Regions from separate parts of the Homo sapiens genome. Here region 1 is linked to region 2. Evidence: promoter capture Hi-C in human tissues and cell types (Jung and others, 2019). All regions are on one chromosome and are shown on one strand. The core of a region is centred on a gene start or on the middle of the fragment in contact, and the rest is flanking DNA. Distances in the headings are between cores, read along the strand shown.

Region 1 (4,988 bases), core at 427-2,926, 1.4 Mb after region 2:
AAGGATCTGTCAACTATGTAACATCCCATCCGCATTTCAGCAAATACACTCTCCTTACTGCCTGCCCTGCTAAATGACCCTAGGAGCCCTGGTTACTGAGGCAACCTGGGAATAGCACATACAGACAGAGACCAGAAACAGATGGGACTATTTTTAAAACTAGACTGGGTGGCTCCAAAGCTTTTACCCCATAAAGTGCCTTCCCCAAAGCCCCATTTGGTCTTGTTCTGGGTCCCTACCCTTCTTCACTGGCTTCTATCCATCTTACCAAAGCTATGTGAGGCTGGGGTCTTTATCCCATTTTGGCATGAGATCTATTTACTGCTCCCATCTTCCACACAGAATAGCTAAGCAAGTTTTCACTGCCTCCATTTGTTAAAAATAATTGTTCTTTTATTTCTTTGGAAAGTAGTGGGCCCTGCCCTATGGATTTTCAGGTCAAACTAGGGTAATGAATGCTCCCCTAGTCTTTGGGCTGGAGCACTATGGTCCCAGCTTTCCCAGGGCCCAGAAGCAATTCCTGTATTGTCCAACCCAAGCAACTAGGACCCAAATTGTCTGAAGGCTCCTATCAGGCCTTCTCTCCTGACCACCCACTTCCCAATCTTTCCTGGCTTTCCCTCTGGGCAGGGTATTTTTTTCTTCTAAAACCAGTGCTGGAACCTGTGCTGTGCAGAAGAGAGGACAAGACGAGGGATGTTCCCAAATTCCCATAAGAGGACACAGCCCCTCAGTCAGTCCTTCCTCTCTGCTGGCTTCAGTCTGCACTCCTCTGCAAGCCCCCACTGTGAGGCTTGAAGATGGACAAGAGGACCCTCATAAAAGGGAGGTGAGAGAAAACACACCATCCCAACCCCTCCTCAGGACATACTCCTTGTAGTCTCTTGTCCTAGTTCTCAAGGGAGCCCTTCAGACAGGGATGGGGAAGGCTAGGTGAGTGGGCAAGGGCCCCCTGACCCCAGCCCTGCGAGGCTATACCAGGGGAGTGTCCATTAGCCCCATCAGTGTGGCATGGCCGTGATGCGCATGCTCTGGGAAGCGATAGGGTAAGTCACCATGGGAGTGGTGGTGTGGCTCATTGTGATTCCTGCCAAGGGTTGGGCCATCGATACAGCCACAGGGGCCACAGGAGCCACAGATACAGCCACAGGAGCCATGGAGACAGGTGGAGGTGCCATTCCCTGGGCAATTGTTTGAGCCAGGGCAGCTGACAGTGGCGTGATCTCTGGGGTCAAGTGTGGGGGTGGGGGTGGTGGAGCAGCAGGAGGTGCAGCATTAGTTGGGGGAGCAGCTGGAGCTCCAGCAGGGGCCACCAGTTCTTGCTGGGACACTGGACGAGGCTGTAGAGCCTGGCTGCTGAGAGTAGTGTGAGTCTGGGCAATGCCATGGTTAAAAGTGGCAACAGTGCCCACAGTGGGGGCCAGAGTCTGCTCAGTCGCTGGTGCAGTGGAGCTCAGGGTTATGACCTTGGCCTGATTGCGGAACTGAGCATTTTGTTCCAGTAGTACCTCATTGGTGGCCAGCAGGTTGCTGACCTGCTTCTTTAACTCCTCTACCCGCTTCCTGAGCATGGCATTCTCCTCCTCTAGCAGTCTGCACTCCACCCCTCGCGGTGGAGCCAAACTATATTCATATGACTCAAAATGAGGGCCATCAGGGGGGCAGCATCCACCTCGCCGGCGTTTTGGGCCTGGCTCATGGTCCTCAAAGCCCCTGTCAGGAAGGTCATAGATATCATAGAGATCATGACGTCGTCCTGGGAGGACTGAGCCTGTTGAGCCCCCACCAGTGCCTCCTCCACCCCGAGCATCAAACTCAAAATCCCGTTGCAGGTGACGGAACTTGCACTTGGCTCCTCTCTGACAGTCACCCTTGAGAAAGTCACGGCAGATAGGGACCTCCTCCTTGCCATTTGGTAGGTCAGCCGGTGAAAGGCCAAGGCCAGCTGCTACTTTCTGCCTCAGCCGTGGGGGAAGCTCTCCTGTCTTCTTATAGCCATCCTCATCCTCCTTGGAGCCATGGATGAAACGGCAATTTGGGCGGCTACACTCCTTGTTCTGGAAGTCATGGCAGAAGATGAACTCGTTTTTGCTCACCCCCAAGTTGGACACCTCGCTCATGTCTGGGTGGCGATATCGGCAACGCTTGCCTCGCTTGCACACATTCCTCAAGAAGTCTCTACAGATGGCATCTGAGCTGGCCCCGCCACTGCCTACCCCTGCCCCACTGGCCTCCTCGCTGCCACCACCTCCAGGGCCTCCACCGCTGCTCCCGGTACCGTTGGCATAGCTGTCCCGGTCAGGCATCCTGGTCCCGCCCAACTCAGGGTTTTCTTTATCTTGCCACTCTTGGTGACCACTACAAAAGAGGAGAACTGTATCAAACAGGAGTCCTCCAGGGAGATCCCACTCTTCCTGACTATAAAGCAGGTGGCCCAGAGGGGCAATGGCTTTAGAGATGGAGAATCTAAGGGATAAGAATTCTGGCTGAAATGTCTGACTCATCAAAAGCCCCTCCCAGGGTTTTGTGCACCTGGTCTGGGTCAGAATGATTCACACTTGCCTGGCTAACGGAGGAGGGATAGGCCCAGGACGGAGCAGGGAAAAAATAGTGTTGGAATTCATCTTTCCTTTTGAGCTGACCTTATTAAAGTTGTGGAAGTGAAATTAAAACTGCAGTCAGTATCTGAATAGTCTGGAAGGAAACTGGGAATAGTGCCCAAGATGGGCTACTGAGCTACTAGGGCTGTAGAAGATGGGACACTGGTAACAAAACTTCCTTAACCCCCTTTCCTTTTCCTCAGGTAAGGGCTCTGTACACATCAAATCTCTAGAAGCCAAGAAATCCTGGGTGAAGAGACTGGTGTCACCAGCTTGAGGGGAGTCTCAAAACCTGTCATATTTTAGTATTCCCTCCCAGCCATCATCACTGTCAACGGCAGAGAGGTAAGCCCCTTCTATTTCAGGATAGGAGTTCTAAGTTAGAGTCTCCACTTCTAGATTTCCTAGGACAAACCATTTGTGATAAGGTCAAGTGGGAAGGAGTTAATTTCACAGGAACAAGTGACCTTTCCCCATTCCCCACCCCCTTCCTACTCCCCTATGTGAAGATCCCACTGACATCCAACCACACCATTCCTCAACCCAGAAAGATCCTCTTTATTTATAGACTCCATAAAAGCTTTTTAAGTCTCCTATTTCCCAAGAGAGCTTTGGAATGTCAGTCCACTGCCCTGGTTCTAGCCCTCCCCTCTCTCCACCCCCAGTAAGACCTGGAGTCCCTGCTACCACGTGTCTGACCTCCCAAGCCTTTCCTATGCGGTGTTCAGGCTCCCCCTGCTGCTGAAATAGGAAAACTTCATATTGTTCCCTTTGAGAATAAGGGAATCTTTCCTAATTCCTTTGGCCTTGACCTACCCCCACCCCACTACTGTGACTTTGCCTTCAGATCTCCCTAAAATGAACTAACCAAACCAGAGGCCAGAGTTACAAGAGAATCTGTAAGAGGGTCCTCCTCCTCTAAAGAGAGGTAGTCCCAGAATAATAGAAGCAATCAAGGAAAGAAGTGGTAAAAGAAGATACAAACTTTTAGTAAAGGGGAATGACCAGGTGAAGTACAAATGCCATCTATCCAAGCCTGGCTCACGTTGCAAGTCGCACCAGCAGCAGATAATTAGTTATGATGCTCCTCCCCACCCCACTCTCCCAGAATTGATACCTGAGGTAGCTCAGGTGAAGTCCGGGGCTCCTGTGGGTCTCCACCTCCACATCACTGCTGGGTTCTGAGCAGGAAAAAAACAGAGACTTGGGTGGAAGAAGGAGTAAGAGTGGAGGACTATGGGGTGGTTGTCACAAGAAATCTGACAAAACGGCAAAGCTTCGAGAACGTGAGGATTTCCTCAGGGTTCAAACTGAACTTCACCTGTCCAAGGGAGAAGTTGCCAGTAAGAAGAGTAAAACTAATTCGGAGGGACTGGGAGGAGGGGTTGGAAAACCAGCCCTGAGTGAACAAAGAGTGCGGGGCGCCCTGCCTCAAGATGAAAGAGGATGTGAGGGTCAGAGCACCGCCAAGGGCTGGAGTTAGTAATGGCTAGTGAGGAACCTCAAAAAGGCAGCGTCTGACAGTGCATTGGGATGGCCGATTAGACTTGAAGGCAGTGATTGTGACGCTTCCCAACACCCTAGAGTTTGCGAAAGAAGTCCTAGGAGTTTTCCCGCAGCAAGTCTTCTAGCTTGGCAGGTTCCGTGCAGTGCCGCCGGCGCTCAGCCGTGGGCTACGTGAATGGGACACTAAGGGCGCGCGAAGTGAAGCGGGGAGCTGGAGCTCCAGGTGTCATCAAGCTGAGGGGATGGGCAGGGTTGTGACGTCACGAAGCTGGCGTTTGCTCGCGATGCGGGGTCACTCAGAAAAGGGGCACTGCCCTGGGGTGTGAGGACGAGCCAGCTCGGTTCTGGGGGGCCTTCTGTGGCCTGGCCGAGCCCAGCCGCTGGGCCGGCCCCGACTCCTCCCCTCCGGGCGCGGCCTCCACCTAAGTCTCCCGCCTCCCTCACCTGCCGCCGCCGCCGTAGTTGCTGCTGCCGCCTGCCGGTCCTCTAGCTTCGACAAAGAGCCGCCTACCCGATCGCTCTTCCGCTTCCTGCGGAAGAAGTGACGCTCTAGCCAGCAGACCCGGAACCATACTCTATGGTGTATGAAGTACGCGTGCGACATGCCGCAGGGCGTTCCCAGCACGCTTTGCGTGTCACTATGGCAACCCAACCCAAAGGCACGACATGGTCTAAGCGGTAGTCGCCAAGGCAGCCCTCCTGGAAAGGGGCGGTACCAGCATTGGCCCCTAATAACCCGCGAAACCTAAAACCTGCCTCCAGAGACGTACCATATCCCATCCAACTCCAGCGAGATGCAAACCACACCACGTAACCCGGGCTGTTGCCTTTATAGCTTTGATACCCTCCATAGCACAGGTAGTGACAGGGCAAACTCTAATG
Region 2 (5,141 bases), core at 2,215-4,714:
GAGCAGCACAGCCCAGCACCCTCTCAAAAGAAAGATCCTTAACAATGTGAGGCAAGCACCTATAAAGATCTCGGGGATCTGCTGGCTTAGTCTACAACCATCCTTTCCAAGCCCAGTCCCTAGGGACCAGAGGGTCAGAACCTCAGCTCCCTGGGACCAAGAAAGTCTAGCCCAATTCTTAGGCATATGAAGGGCAAGGCCTCCCTCCATTCGGAGTAGAAGACTTCAACCAGGAGTATGGGCACATTCCCATAATGCTAGGCCACTAGGAAGTTTCCCAGAGTGTCTGGCTCCTGTTGTTCTCTACCCAGGAAGATGATATAAAAAGTACAGATTGCCCCACAGGTCACCAGGCAATTGCCCAACTGCCCGCTGGGGTGGTACCAGCAGAACTCCCCCCATGCCTGCTCCATCAGACAATCGCTGATATAGTTCATTCGGGTCTTAAGAGGTGAGGATCACAGCTCAGTCTTCTCCCAGGATCCTGGGAAGCTCCTGATTTTCCCTCAAGCCTACGGCAAAGGGATTCAGAACCTCCTATTCCACTGGCTTCCGATTATCTCCAAGAGAGCCTGTCCTCCGATAGAAGGGGAAGCCCCTCCAACCTGCAGGTATCCTCCCCAGCCTCACCATTGCTCCCACCCCACACTGGCGGCTTCCAAACTTTCCCTCTCACAACAAGGCGCCCTGTCACCCAGACTGCTTCCCTCAGCTTGAGGAGGAGGGGAAGGCGCACGAAGTAGGAAGGAACTTGGGGAGAGGGCGGGCGGAGGGTGGGCGAAGCACTGAGGGGAGGGCGGTGAGGAAGGCAGAAGTCTGGCAGTGAGAGGGAGAAGCGGCGGGGGCAGGTGAGGGCGGGGGAGTGGGGATGGGGCCGGGGAAAGGGGCCGAGAGGACGCGGAGGGGGCAGAGGGTAGGGACGGGAGGGGGAGGGGCAGGGTGGGGGGGGCCGGGCCCCGCACTCACCGCGGCCCATGGTTCGGCCGGCCCCGCCCTGCGCAGTCGCGGCCCAGAGGGTGAGTGGGAGGGGGTGGGAGGAGGGTCGGTGGAGCCCGAGCCTCCGGTACGGCCCCGGCCGGTCCTAGCAGGAAGCGCCGCTGCCGCCGCCGCGGATCACCGAGCGGCCTCCCGCGCATGCGCCATGGGGGCCAGGGGCAGCCCTGGGGATTCCGTTCCCAGAAGGCACTGCGCAGGCTGCTGCCGCTGCCGCCGCCGCCGTCGCTGCCGCAGCCGCCGCCGCAGGAGCCGCCGCCTCCGCCGCTGCCCGGACGGGAGAGGGGCGGGGCCGGGCCCCCGCCCAGCGGACAGCGACGAGCCAACTGGAGGGGCTGCAGTGCGCATGCGGGAGCGCGCCTACCCCTCCCCCACAACCCCCCATTAATCCCCAAGAGAACAAACACCCCACGCGGCCCCCCCGCCCTCCGCGGAAGGATCTGCGCCTCTTCCCAGGCCACTGGTGGCCAATCCCAGCCCTCCTCAGGGAGGGGCCCCTTCCAAAGCCACAGTCTGTTGCGGGAACCAGGAATGCCAGGTCCGGGAGGGGCCAGGCCCCGAAAGATGAAAGTCGCGACTTGCCCTGCCCCGCCCCAAAGGCTTCCCGGGTAGTGTGCTGGGACTTGACCCGCCTCCCCAGGTCAACATGTCACAACACGACCTCAGCCTGTCAAGTCACATGACCTCTGCCTGTCACTGACAACCTGGTCTGTCTTTAGGCCAGGGGAGACCATCTGGTCCACCCTCCACACTACCCCCATTTTCAGAGAGGAAATGGAGGTGTGGAGCAGCGGAGCAGCCTAACCAAAGACCTGTCATTGCCACACCACTCCAGTCACAACCGGCCTTGTGACAGTTTCTACTTAAACTCTGGCTGCCCCCATGAGGGTATGACAGGATATGTAACAGGCCACCACATGGCCTCTGTTTTCAAGGCACAAGAAAAATACTTTGCATTCTGGGTGGTGCGTTTTACTTTTGGTCAAGTTGCCTCCAAGTTCATGGTTCTCATTTTACCTTCACAACTTTTATCTTTAATTTACAAACAAGGACGGTAAGATCCCTTGGCAAGTGATGGGGAGTTGAGTCTAAAATCGCGGCTCCGGTCTCCCCAGTCCAGGGCAGTCCTGCGCTGAAGTGCACTCACACGTCCCGGGATGAGACTCCGCTGTAAATCTCGACCCGAACACCTAGGAGGCAGGCCTGTGCCGCGCTCCTCACACAGGGAGTCACAGGACTTGCTGTCTGGTACAGCAAGAGAGGGTCTTGGAGAAAGCCATAGGAGTACCGTGGGGGAAAATAGGTGGCCAAACAGAATCGGGTCCACTGGGCAAAATACATGACTTCTGGCAGGCTGAGGGCTTACCAACTACAAGGTAAAAGTCAAGGGCGCTGTTCTGAGAGAAGCGGAAAATGACTACCAAGGGATTCCAGTACCTCGGCCCCTTTTGGGAGATTTACGGGGCTAGAACAGGAGACCACCCCCGTTTTTTTGTTTGTTTGTTTTGTTTTTTGTTTTTGGTGAAACGTAGTCTCGCTCTGTCACCCAGGCTGGAGTGCAGTGGCGCGATCTCGGTCACTGCAACATCCGCCTCCAGGGTTCAAGCGATTCTTCTGCCTCTGCCTCCAGAGTAGCTGGGATTACAGGCGCGCATCACCACACCCGGCTAATTTTTGTATTTTTAGTAGAGACGGGGTTTCACCATGTTGGTCAGGCTGATCTCGAACTCCTGACCTCAAGTGATCCGCTCTCCTCAGCCTCCCAAAGTGCTGGGATTACAGGCGTAAGCCACTGAGCCCGGCCAGGAGACCTCTTTAAGAAGACTCGAGATGTCGACAATCCCAGTGGATGGATACCAACTTTAAAAAGAAAAGTTCAAAAGGCCTATGTGCCCATTAGCTGGGAGGGGCCAAGAAATATGGGAGTCCCTTATAGTGGGGGTAAAACGGCGGGTAAAGCTAGGTGGGCGGAACAGCAGCTTCTGGGGGAGACAAGCGGCAAAGAGGCTCACGACCGACTAGGGGCGACCAAGGCTGATAGCCGTTGGGGCCGTTGGGCGCCGGGAGCTGGCGCCCCGCCCTCTCTCCTCTCCCCCACCCTCCGCACCTCCCACCACCCTCGGTGTCCCCTGCGCGTGCGCGTGCAGACACCGGTTGCCAAACATTGCATCATCCCCGCCCCCCTTTCCTCCCCTCCCCCCCCGCTACACTCCCCTCCGCGCGCGCGCATGACTCACCCACCTCCTCCGTGAAGCCTCGTGACCCAAAGCCACTTCCGGGTCCGACACTACGTCGACCCCCTAGCGAGAGGGAGCGACGGGGGCGGTGCCGCGGGGCTCCTGAGTGGCGGATGCGAGGGACGGGGCGGGGCCAATGCCGGCGTGCCACTTTCTGATTGGTAGGTTTTGGGGTCCCGCCCCTGAGAGGAGGGCAAGGCCATGGTAAAAGATTACAGCCAGGCGCTCCCGAGGTCAGAGACTTAAGTCTAAGGCACTGAGCGTATCATGTTAAAGATGAGCGGGTGGCAGCGACAGAGCCAAAATCAGAGCTGGAACCTGAGGAGAGAGGCGAGTACTGATTCCCATCTACCTTTTACCCTCCCGTCTCCTCAAAGTTGGGGCGTCCGCTCTTTAGGATCGGCCTCACTCCTCCACAGTGAAGTTAGGGACCGTCCGAGAGAGGAATGGGGAGAGTCCCTTATTCTGGGGTGGTGCTTACAAACCCCTATTGCTTCGGACGACGGCGTCTCTCCACCCCTGCCCGGAGCCGGAACACGGGCCCTGCTCTGTGCTGCTGGGCAAAGGGACCTCGGTTGCCCTTGGGAAATTCATTCTTTCCCGTAGCCAACTTCAGGCCTCATCGTTAGGCCTGTCCGCGGGGAGGCAGGTCAGCAGGACACACCCCCGCTCTAAGACTGGGTGACCATCGCTCAGGCCGTTTCCGCCGCTTCGCCACCAGCGGGCCTTCTCCCTACCCCACCCCCAATTCTGTCTCAGTCTCAGTGCCTCTGGTGTCAGCATGGCCACCTTGGTAGCTGGGGCTACTGGACCCTGCAGCGGATAGGGGAACCTTGAGGAGACACAAGCCTTTGGGAGGGGTGCCGATGGACAGGGAGTGGTGTGTTTTCCTTTTGCCGTAGAGGTCTCTGGGCCTCCTGCACAAGAGAGCAGCCTGGATCTCTTAAGTGTAGGAGGCCATTTGGGGTCTCCCCAGGGTATTGTCCTTCCCTCGGGATTAGTCCCTGCCTCTTTAACCCGGTCCTGTCTCCCAGCTAATCTCTGTGTAACCATTGCATCAGGCCAGCCCCGTTTGGCTCTGCAGCCTTCTGACCTGAGGCTCTACTGCTGATGAAAGCCAAGTCCCACACACTGGAAGGCAAGGGAGGGTTCCCCAGGGAGGACAGCCCTGCAGAGAAATACTTCGGGCAATATTGCATCTCTAGCCCCTAGGGATCAGCAGCTGCCACTCTGCTTCTGCCCCTTCCCTATAAGAGAGACTGGGGGGAGTTTATCCATTCATTCTTAACAAATACTTAATGAGGACCTACTGTGTGCCACACAGTTTGGGGCTCAGGGTACATCCTTGAGCAAGAGGAAAAAATCATCTCAGTGGGAGGCCTACAGTAAACAAAATATAAGTGCCACGGAGAAAGCTAAAGCAGAGAAAGGAATGGAGAATGTTCAGGATGGAGGTCAGAGTGTTACATCAGGTGGTCAGGAATTACCTTAGGTAATTCCTCCACTCAAAACCCTTCAGTGACTTCCATGACATGAAATAGGAAGTCATTGGAGGGTTTGAGCAGAGGAATGACCTGTTTTAAAAGGCTCACTCAGGCTGCTGTATGGTGAATAGAGTTGCGGAGGGGTGGCAAGAGAAGAAATGGGAAGACCTTCTGCAGTCAGAAAGTTTCTGCAGTAATTTAGAGATGGTAGTGAATTGATCTAGATTGGAAACAATGGAATTAGAAGTGTTTAGATTCTTCTAAGCAAAGGTTTTAAAAACTCATTTTTAAAGAATGAGTTAAGGGCCGGGCATGGTGGCTCACACCTGTAATCCCAGCACTTTGGGAGACCAGAGGTGGGTGGATCACCTGAGGTCAGGAGTTCAAGACCAGCCTGGCCAACATGGTGAAATCCCATCTTTACTAA

What was found. Contacts are between HindIII fragments. The study calls those that stand out against the background at their distance.
Region 1: a contact is called between a fragment that was not itself captured here and the fragment with the promoter of DDIT3 in region 2, in 1 of the 25 tissues and cell types used here (spleen).

What each region holds. Positions count from the first base shown.
Region 1 is chr12:56,117,881-56,122,868 of GRCh38, reverse strand. ZC3H10 (zinc finger CCCH-type containing 10) reads right to left here and starts at 4,603. Exons shown (of 3, transcript NM_032786.3): 1 at 4,551-4,603; 2 at 3,718-3,781; 3 at 1-2,358. The coding sequence starts at 2,306. The coding sequence ends at 1,002. It overlaps RPL41 (ribosomal protein L41), which reads right to left. Exons shown (of 3, transcript NM_001035267.2): 3 at 4,902-4,988. RefSeq lists an enhancer at 717-1,714 and a silencer at 4,879-4,928. The HindIII fragment of the contact is 3,704 bases long and covers 1-3,528 here.
Region 2 is chr12:57,518,837-57,523,977 of GRCh38, reverse strand. DDIT3 (DNA damage inducible transcript 3) reads left to right here and starts at 3,464. Exons shown (of 4, transcript NM_004083.6): 1 at 3,464-3,560. LOC128125814 reads left to right here and starts at 3,498. Exons shown (of 2, transcript NM_001414991.1): 1 at 3,498-3,560. The coding sequence starts at 3,498. MBD6 (methyl-CpG binding domain protein 6) reads right to left here and starts at 1,154. Exons shown (of 13, transcript NM_052897.4): 1 at 967-1,154. It overlaps MIR616 (microRNA 616), which reads left to right and starts at 4,719; the gene lies at 4,719-4,815. RefSeq lists silencers at 923-1,322, 3,037-3,496 and enhancers at 1,746-2,706, 2,707-3,666, 2,493-3,692, 3,567-3,696, 3,667-4,628 and 4 more. The HindIII fragment of the contact is 17,458 bases long and covers 1-5,141 here.